Linked DNA regions of Homo sapiens: region 1 is linked to region 2. The links are contacts of gene promoters, found by promoter capture Hi-C in blood cells and fetal thymus (Javierre and others, 2016). All regions are on one chromosome and are shown on one strand. The core of a region is centred on a gene start or on the middle of the fragment in contact, and the rest is flanking DNA. Distances in the headings are between cores, read along the strand shown.

The links. The method cuts DNA at HindIII sites, captures the fragments that hold promoters and counts their contacts. A CHiCAGO score of 5 or more calls a contact.
Region 1: a fragment that was not itself captured here is called in contact with the fragment with the promoter of HDHD2 in region 2 in 1 of 17 cell types (M0 macrophages); the score reaches 5.2 in M0 macrophages.

The regions. Positions count from the first base shown.
Region 1 is chr18:47,749,510-47,753,227 of GRCh38, reverse strand. No RefSeq gene overlaps it. Among named protein-coding and RNA genes, the nearest start is that of SMAD2, 180 kb to the left of the region's middle. The HindIII fragment of the contact is 555 bases long and covers 1,836-2,390 here.
Region 2 is chr18:47,149,238-47,152,747 of GRCh38, reverse strand. HDHD2 (haloacid dehalogenase like hydrolase domain containing 2) reads left to right here and starts at 2,248. Exons shown (of 7, transcript NM_032124.5): 1 at 2,248-2,370. RefSeq lists an enhancer at 2,780-2,839. The HindIII fragment of the contact is 10,382 bases long and covers 1-3,510 here.

The DNA of each region.
Region 1 (3,718 bases), core at 864-3,363, 600 kb before region 2:
GGTGAATAAGATGGGCTGTGGGGGTTTTGAGCAGGGAGGGACCTGATTCTACCCATGTTTCACCAGGTCATTCTGGCTGGCATGTGGCAGGTGGAGGGATAGAGGCGGGGACATGGGGCAAGTGTGGAGGACAGTTAGAAGCTACTGCAATGGTCCAGGTGTGAGATGGCATCCCCAGACCCCATCGGCGATGCTACTGCCTCTGTGTTTGGTGGTGGGGCTGGTCCCTCATCTAAGTCCTTCTCAGCCCTAATAGAGATGCCCGCACCTGCCCCACCTGGCTGTGCCAAAGCCTGCCCTGGAATTGAGATGGTGACACCCTCCCTGCCCTGACCCTTGCCCTTGAGAGAAGCCTCAGATCCTGTCTAGTGGTCCAGAGGCCTGGTTCTTCCTCCCAGCTCTGACTCTGAGTGTTTCCAGCCATTTTTTTCATACCTCTGTGCTTCAGTTTCCTCACTATAAAACTGATAAGTGGCCAGGCGCGGTGGCTTATGCTTGTAATCCCAGCACTTTGGGAGGCCGAGGCTGGTGGATCACGAGGTCAGGAGATGGAGACCATCCTGGCTAACATGTGAAACCCCGTCTCTACTAAAAATACAAAAAATTAGCTGGGCGTGGTGGTGCGCACCTGTATTCCCAGCTACTTGGGAGGCTGAGGCAGGAGAATTGCTTGAATCTGGGAGGCGGAGGTTGCAGTGAGCCAAGATCATGCCATTGCACTCCAGCCTGGGTGACAGAGCAAGACTCCATCTCAAAGAAAACAACAAAAAACAAAAAACAAAAAACTGATGAGTACATTGCCTGTTCTAGGCAATTGCCTGTTCTAGGCCAGGCATGGGGGCTATAGACATGAGTAGGCTCTCCAGGAGTCTGTGGGTCCTGCAAGAGGGCAAAAAGGAAACAGAAGCATGGGACAGCATAGGTATCAGGGACTCTGTATTATTTTAAAAGTGTGCAAGGAACATGTGGGAAGGAAAGACTGGACCGATTCTGCCTGGAGCAGGGAGAGAATGCTTCCTGGAGGAGGCAGCTATTAAACTGAGGCAGGAAGGAGAAGTCAGCGTTCACTAGGCAGACAGTAGGAAATGGTGTATCTGGCAGAGAACAGCAGGTGCTAGGGCTTGGAGATGCAAAAGTGACAGTTAAAAGATATCACCTTAAAATTATTGAATTTTAGAGCCAGAAGGGACCTTGGAGATCATGAAATCTAGTGGGTTTTCAAACATGTTTTGGTCTTATTTCAAGCATATGTAGAATTCCATTGTATACACCAGTTAATATTAATAGCTAACATTCATTGAGCGTTTACCGTATGCCAGACACTTTACCTGTGTTAATTCAATTACTTTTCCCAACAATCCTTTGAGTTAGGTTACTACTAACATCTTAATTTATAGATGAGGAAAATGAGGCATAGAGGAGTTAAGAAACTTGCTCATGGTCACACAGTGTCAGTGAAAAGGCTAGGAATTGAACCCAGGTAGCCTGGTTCCTAGCCTAGGCATGTGGTTACCAGGCTGTATGGCCTCTGTAGATGTGAAGGTGGAGCTGCTTGTTTAAGGAGGGGTGGTACCCAAAAGGCCTTGTCCCCTCCTCATCCACACATTTCCCGCTGAGACCCATGGATATAACCTGCCAGCAAGAGGCTCCCTCTGAAACCACTGATTTAGATCAATCATATGATGGAGAAGCCATATCTGTCAGGTTATGCCATAGATTCCAAGGTTGTCCTGTAATGATGAGTAAGCCAGGGAAGGCTTTCTGGGGAGGGAGTGCCCATTTCATGTCATTAACACCCATTCTCTAACCATGTGGGGTGTTTTCTAGCAAAAGCTTCAGCCTTGTGGGGAGGATGCATGGGGGTTGGCAGGACAGCACATGGCTTGGTTTCCAGCCAGGACTCCTTGGTCGGTTTTCTTCAGCACTGAAGTACTCAGGTCCCAGGCCTGAGGGCAGAGGCAGGAGGAGCAAGACTCTCAGCGGACTCCATGTGGTTGATGATTGGCAGGTGGAGATGAGGAGCATGTGGGAAGTCTGCAGGTCCCAGGCAGAAAGTGCACTGCCAGGGCATCAGTGCAGGTCCCGGACATCAGTGCAGCGCCAGAGCATCAGTGCAGGTTCCGGGCAGGGCATCAGTGCAGTGCCAAGGCATCAGTGCAGTGGGTAGGAGGGACAACCCCCTTCACACTGACCGCCCCCCTCAGCTTGCTTTAAAACAGAAGAGGGTGGGATTTTGCCTTGGTGTCGGGAAAGGGCACGGTTATGTGAGGGCTGGTGGACAGGGGAGCAGTAGTTTGATTCTTGTTGGAGGCCACCCCTCCCAGTTCCCCTTACTGAGGGATTGGGGGGTACTAGAAACCCTCTGAGCTTCCAGGTCCTCATTCTAAGCTTCTAGTGTCAGCTTCCAGGGGCCAGTGGAGACCCTGCCTCCTCCAGGGTTCTTTCCTGACCTCCCAGCCCGTAGGGTCCTCGGTCCCTTGGGGCATCACTAGATCCCTCTCTGGTTCTTGCTGGTACTTTTGGCCACAGCTTTACACCCTGCTTTCCCATCCCTAGGTGCTGTTTCCCCCAGGTGGGCATCCAGCCTGTTCCAGGTATTGATTCATCCAGCATTTAGTGAGTGGCTACTCCAGGCGTCAGGCACCAAGAGGGGCCTGCCCCTCAGCAGCTCCCAGTGTGGTGTGTGTGTGTGTGTGTATGTACATGTGTGTATGTCTATATGTATGTGTACATGTATATGTATGCATATATATGAGATGTGTGCATGTGTATACGTGTGCATGTGTGTATGTATATGTGTATATGTGTGTATGTGTATATGGGTGTATGTGTGTGCATATCTTTGTATACATGTGTATATGTGTTTATATCTGTGTGTATGTGTGTATATGTATGTGTATGCATGTATATGCATGTGTGTATAAGTGTATGAATATGTGTGTATAAATGTATGTATATGCATATGTGTATAAATGTGTGTATGTATATGCATATGTGTATATAAATGTGTGTATGTATATGGGTTTATAAGTGTATGTATATATGTGTATGTGTGTATAAACGTGTGTATGTATGTATAAGTGTGTGTATGTATATGTGTATGTGTGTATGTATGTGTATGTGTGTGTATGTATATTTGTATAAATGTGTGTATGTATATGTGTGTGTATGTATATTTGTATAAATGTGTGTATGTATATGTATGTATAAGCATGTATATGTATGTTTATGTATATGTGTGTATATGTGTGTATGTGTGTATATGTGTGTGTGCATGTGTGTGTATATGTGTGTATCTGTGTCAGACTGACAACTGAGCAGGGAGACCAAGTCAATGACTGTGGTTTGGTCTGAGGAGGGCTGAGACACACACAGGCTGAGGGCCCAAACTTACCCTGAAAACTGCGGCCGAGCCCAGTAGCGGCCATCCCAGTAGCAGGTATGGGAGGCTCTTGTTAACGACCCTATCAGTGGTCCGCAAATCCACCAGAAAGGCGTAGCGTCCTTGTTAATTTCAGGCCTCTCAAAAGCAGCCCTGCCCAGCCTGTCCTGGCCCTCTCCCCTGAACATGTCATCCCTAAAATCTTGACCTCCTACACTTAAGGAGGGCCCTCCTTCCCTCCATCAACCCCATGCCCAAAGCAATCCCCTAAATCCACAGCATCCCGAATTCCAGTAACCCTTTAGAGGTTCGCGCATCCCATTACTGTTTTGGCCC
Region 2 (3,510 bases), core at 999-3,498:
AACATTTTGGGAGGCTGAGGCAGGCAGATCACTTCAGGTCAGGAGTTTGAGACCAGCCTGGCCAACATGGCAAAACCCTGTCTCTATTAAAAGACAAAAGTTAGTCGGGTGTGGTGGCACATGCCTGTGATTCCAGCTACTTGGGAGGCTGAGGCATGAGAATCGCTTGAACCCGGGAGGCAGAGGTTGCAGTGAGCTGAGATTGTGCCACTGCACTCCAGCCTGGCTACACAGTGAGACTCCGTCTCAAAACAACAAAAATAACATTTTGATACCAATGGTAATGGAATTCTTCTTTGCTAAGATTTCTCTTGGCCCCTGATTTTTCATTAGAAGTCAAATATTGTGAAAACATTCGATGCAAGGACCTGGGACACAGTGGGCTATGTCCAAGGGTATCAACGATCAAGATAAGTTTTTCCTACTGTTTTTGTTCCAGTTCAGATACTGCTTTATGGCTTCACTCCTTTGGGTTTTTTGCCCCCCCGCTCCTTTTTTTTTTTTTTTTTTCTGAATCCAGTCCCTCCCTTTGGAGGGGCTGAATTTCTTCTTAGCTTGCCTTTCATCAAGTAGATCCATTTGGAGAGGAGAAAGCCATTAGTCCTGTCCCATGATTCCACATAATCTGAATGAGGCCAGGCATTGGTGCCCGCGCCTGTAATCCCAGCACTTTGGGAGGCTGAGGTGGAAGAATTGCTTTAACCCAGGAGTTTGAGACCAGCCTGGGCAACATCGTGGGACCCCACCCTGTCTACAAAAATCAAAATTAGCCAGTTGTGGTGGTGTGCACCTGTGGTCCCAGCTGTCTGGGGAGGCTGAGGCAGGAGGATCCCTTGAGCCTGGGAAGTCATGGCTGCAGTGAGCCATGATTGTGCCACTGCACTCCATCCTGGGTGACAGAGTGAGGCCCTGTCTCCAAAAAAAAAAAAAAATCAGTTACACTACCCAATTGCCTAGTCTTGGAGCCTGATAATTGATGCCTTCTCCCTAACCCCAATCTAATCTGTCACCAGTTTCTGTTTTGCCTCCTATGAATTTATCCTCTTTGCTTTGTTTCCACACATTCTAGTTCAAGTATCTCTCTTGTGGCCCTGCAGTGGGTCTCTTATCTGGTCTCACCCATTCTGGCATCTCTCCTATCTATTCATACTGCAGGCAGAGGAAGCATTTAGAAAAATACACTTCTTATATTACCCACTTAAAATCCTTTGGTGATGTCTTAATCTGGTCAAAGACAGCTGGCTCATAAGGGGAAACTAGGACCAAATCCTTTTTCCTTCAACCAATTAGACCCTCACACAGAAAACTTAAACTTAGCATATATGAGTAAGACAAAAAAACTTCAGATCCAGTGGGGAGGAAAAGCAGATGGCTCCTAGTCCAAGGGACAGAATGGGTCACAGCTCCTAACAGGGCTGACTGCAGCCTTGGGTAGTGGGGGTGTTAGATTGTGGCATACGGGTGGCATATATGGGTCCCTAGTCAAGGACAGAGCAGTGGTTTTATCAAGGGGTATAACCCTTGTATAAGGTGTAACCCGAGTGAGTATCCTATTATGTCAACACGGCTCCAGAAAGTTGTTCAGTCATTTTCATAGTGAGTGCATAAGAGTGACTTTTCTGTACTCTATTATTCAGGTCCACATAACTTACCTGGATCAAGAGGAGACAGGTAGAGACCCCCACGAGTGTGGCAGCGGGTTAGGGAGGGAGGTGGTTCTGGGTGTACCAAGATAGAGCTCCCGTGGAAGAGGAAGGCACGGCCCGTAGTGGCTCTAATCGGGAGAGAAGAGGGAAAGGAGGGACGTCGCTGCCCGAGGGAGTAGTTAATGGAGGAAGCAAGAGGTGCCAGGTACTATTCAAGTAGCTAAGGGGGAAATGACGACTTCTGAGATTGGGTTGTCTAGTAAAGTATGACTTCTTAGTTAAACCTCGAGAGTGGACAAGTGGTAGAGGAAGGGAGGGGTGAAGGCAAAGAACGCTACTCAGTAACGCTCGGTTCAGCAGTGGTGCTGTGGACTGGAAAACAGCTACCGAAGAAAGGCAGGGGATTATTTTTCCTCGTGCATCCCGGCCCAGGAGGCCGCGCCCTTGGGAAAGCGGGTCTCCAGAAGGGCCTAGCTTTCCGTCAGCGGCGGTGCAGACAGAGGACAACACGGCGCGGTAGCTGCACCGCCTCGGCGGAAATCCCGGGCGAAGGGGTGGGGCGGAGCCGGGAAATCCGGGGCTTCCGGCGCGGCCAGGGCCCAACTTCCGGCGTCCGTCGGGCAGCAGCGGGGCTGTCTATCCCGGCTGAGGACCCGCGGCCAGTGCGGGTGGCTGGCTTTGCCATTAGCGGGGGCCTTTCCTGAGGACGGCGTACGGAGTGTGGGTGAGAAGCCGCTGTAGGACTGAAGAGGAAGAAGCGCAATTGGGGCCGGGAGGCTGCAGATTTTGTGACAGGGTTCGGGAACTACTAGTGGCGCCCCCAGGCCGCCCCTCCTCTCGAGCCGGGCCGTGCGCTCTTGCTCTGTGCGCATTCCCTGTTTTCCGCGTCGGAACCGCCCTCTTTGCAGTGGCCCCGCGCGTGCGCATAGCTGGGCGCGAGGCGCGCTGTGGGTCTCTGCGGGGCGGATCGTGAAGCTAGTGTGTCAGTCATTCCTCGAAGCGTGCTCTTGGGCTGTATTTTGGAGCTAGCGTCCCTCCTGGTCAGTTTGGCGTTTTTAAGGCCCTGGTACTTGGTTTAGAACCGAGTGCAGTGACCAGTCTTGAGGCCCCTTCCCAGCCAAGAGATGGGGGGATGGAAGTTGAGTTGGTGCTGAAAGAGTTTGTTGTTGGGGCCTTCCAGCTGTGGACACCGGGATTCATGAGTTAATTCACGATCTTTATTGAACGCCTAAATAACCCAGTGGGAAAGGCAACACAGTCCCTTATGCACAGAGCTTAACAGTTTAGTAGGAGAGGCGCGGGCTGGTAACCAGGACAGTGGTAAATGTAGTAGGACCACAGGTGGCTCCTAGCCTAACTCTGGGAGAAAAGGAGTTGGACCCAGAGGAGGCACGCCAGAGGAAGTGATGGTTATCAGAGACTGAGGGCTAAAGGGATTGGCCAGGAGATGAGGGTGTAGAGGGGCCCGAGTAGTTGCAGACAAAAGTCCCGCAACGAGGGAGGCAAAGTGTAGAGCTCTTGGCCGCCTGCAGTACCATGGAACTTGGGTGCTAGTAGAGACAAATGTGTTGGAGAGGGTAAACCAGGACTCTGTCCACCAGTGTTCATTGTTCAGACTTTATCCAGAGGTCAGCGGGGAGTCACTGGAAGAGTTTTAACTGGGGAGTGGCTGAATAATACCGTCATTTATTGAATGCCTACAGTGGTTCCAGAAAAGTCTGGAACCATATAGGGAAGGAAAGAAAATTTGTACTTCCCAGGGGTTTTAGGAGGCATGTTTTGTAGCGCCCCAATTTCCCAAGGGAAAATTTGTATTAAAATCTCTTGTTGTAAGTATGCAAGTTTTGAATAATATGCCATAATA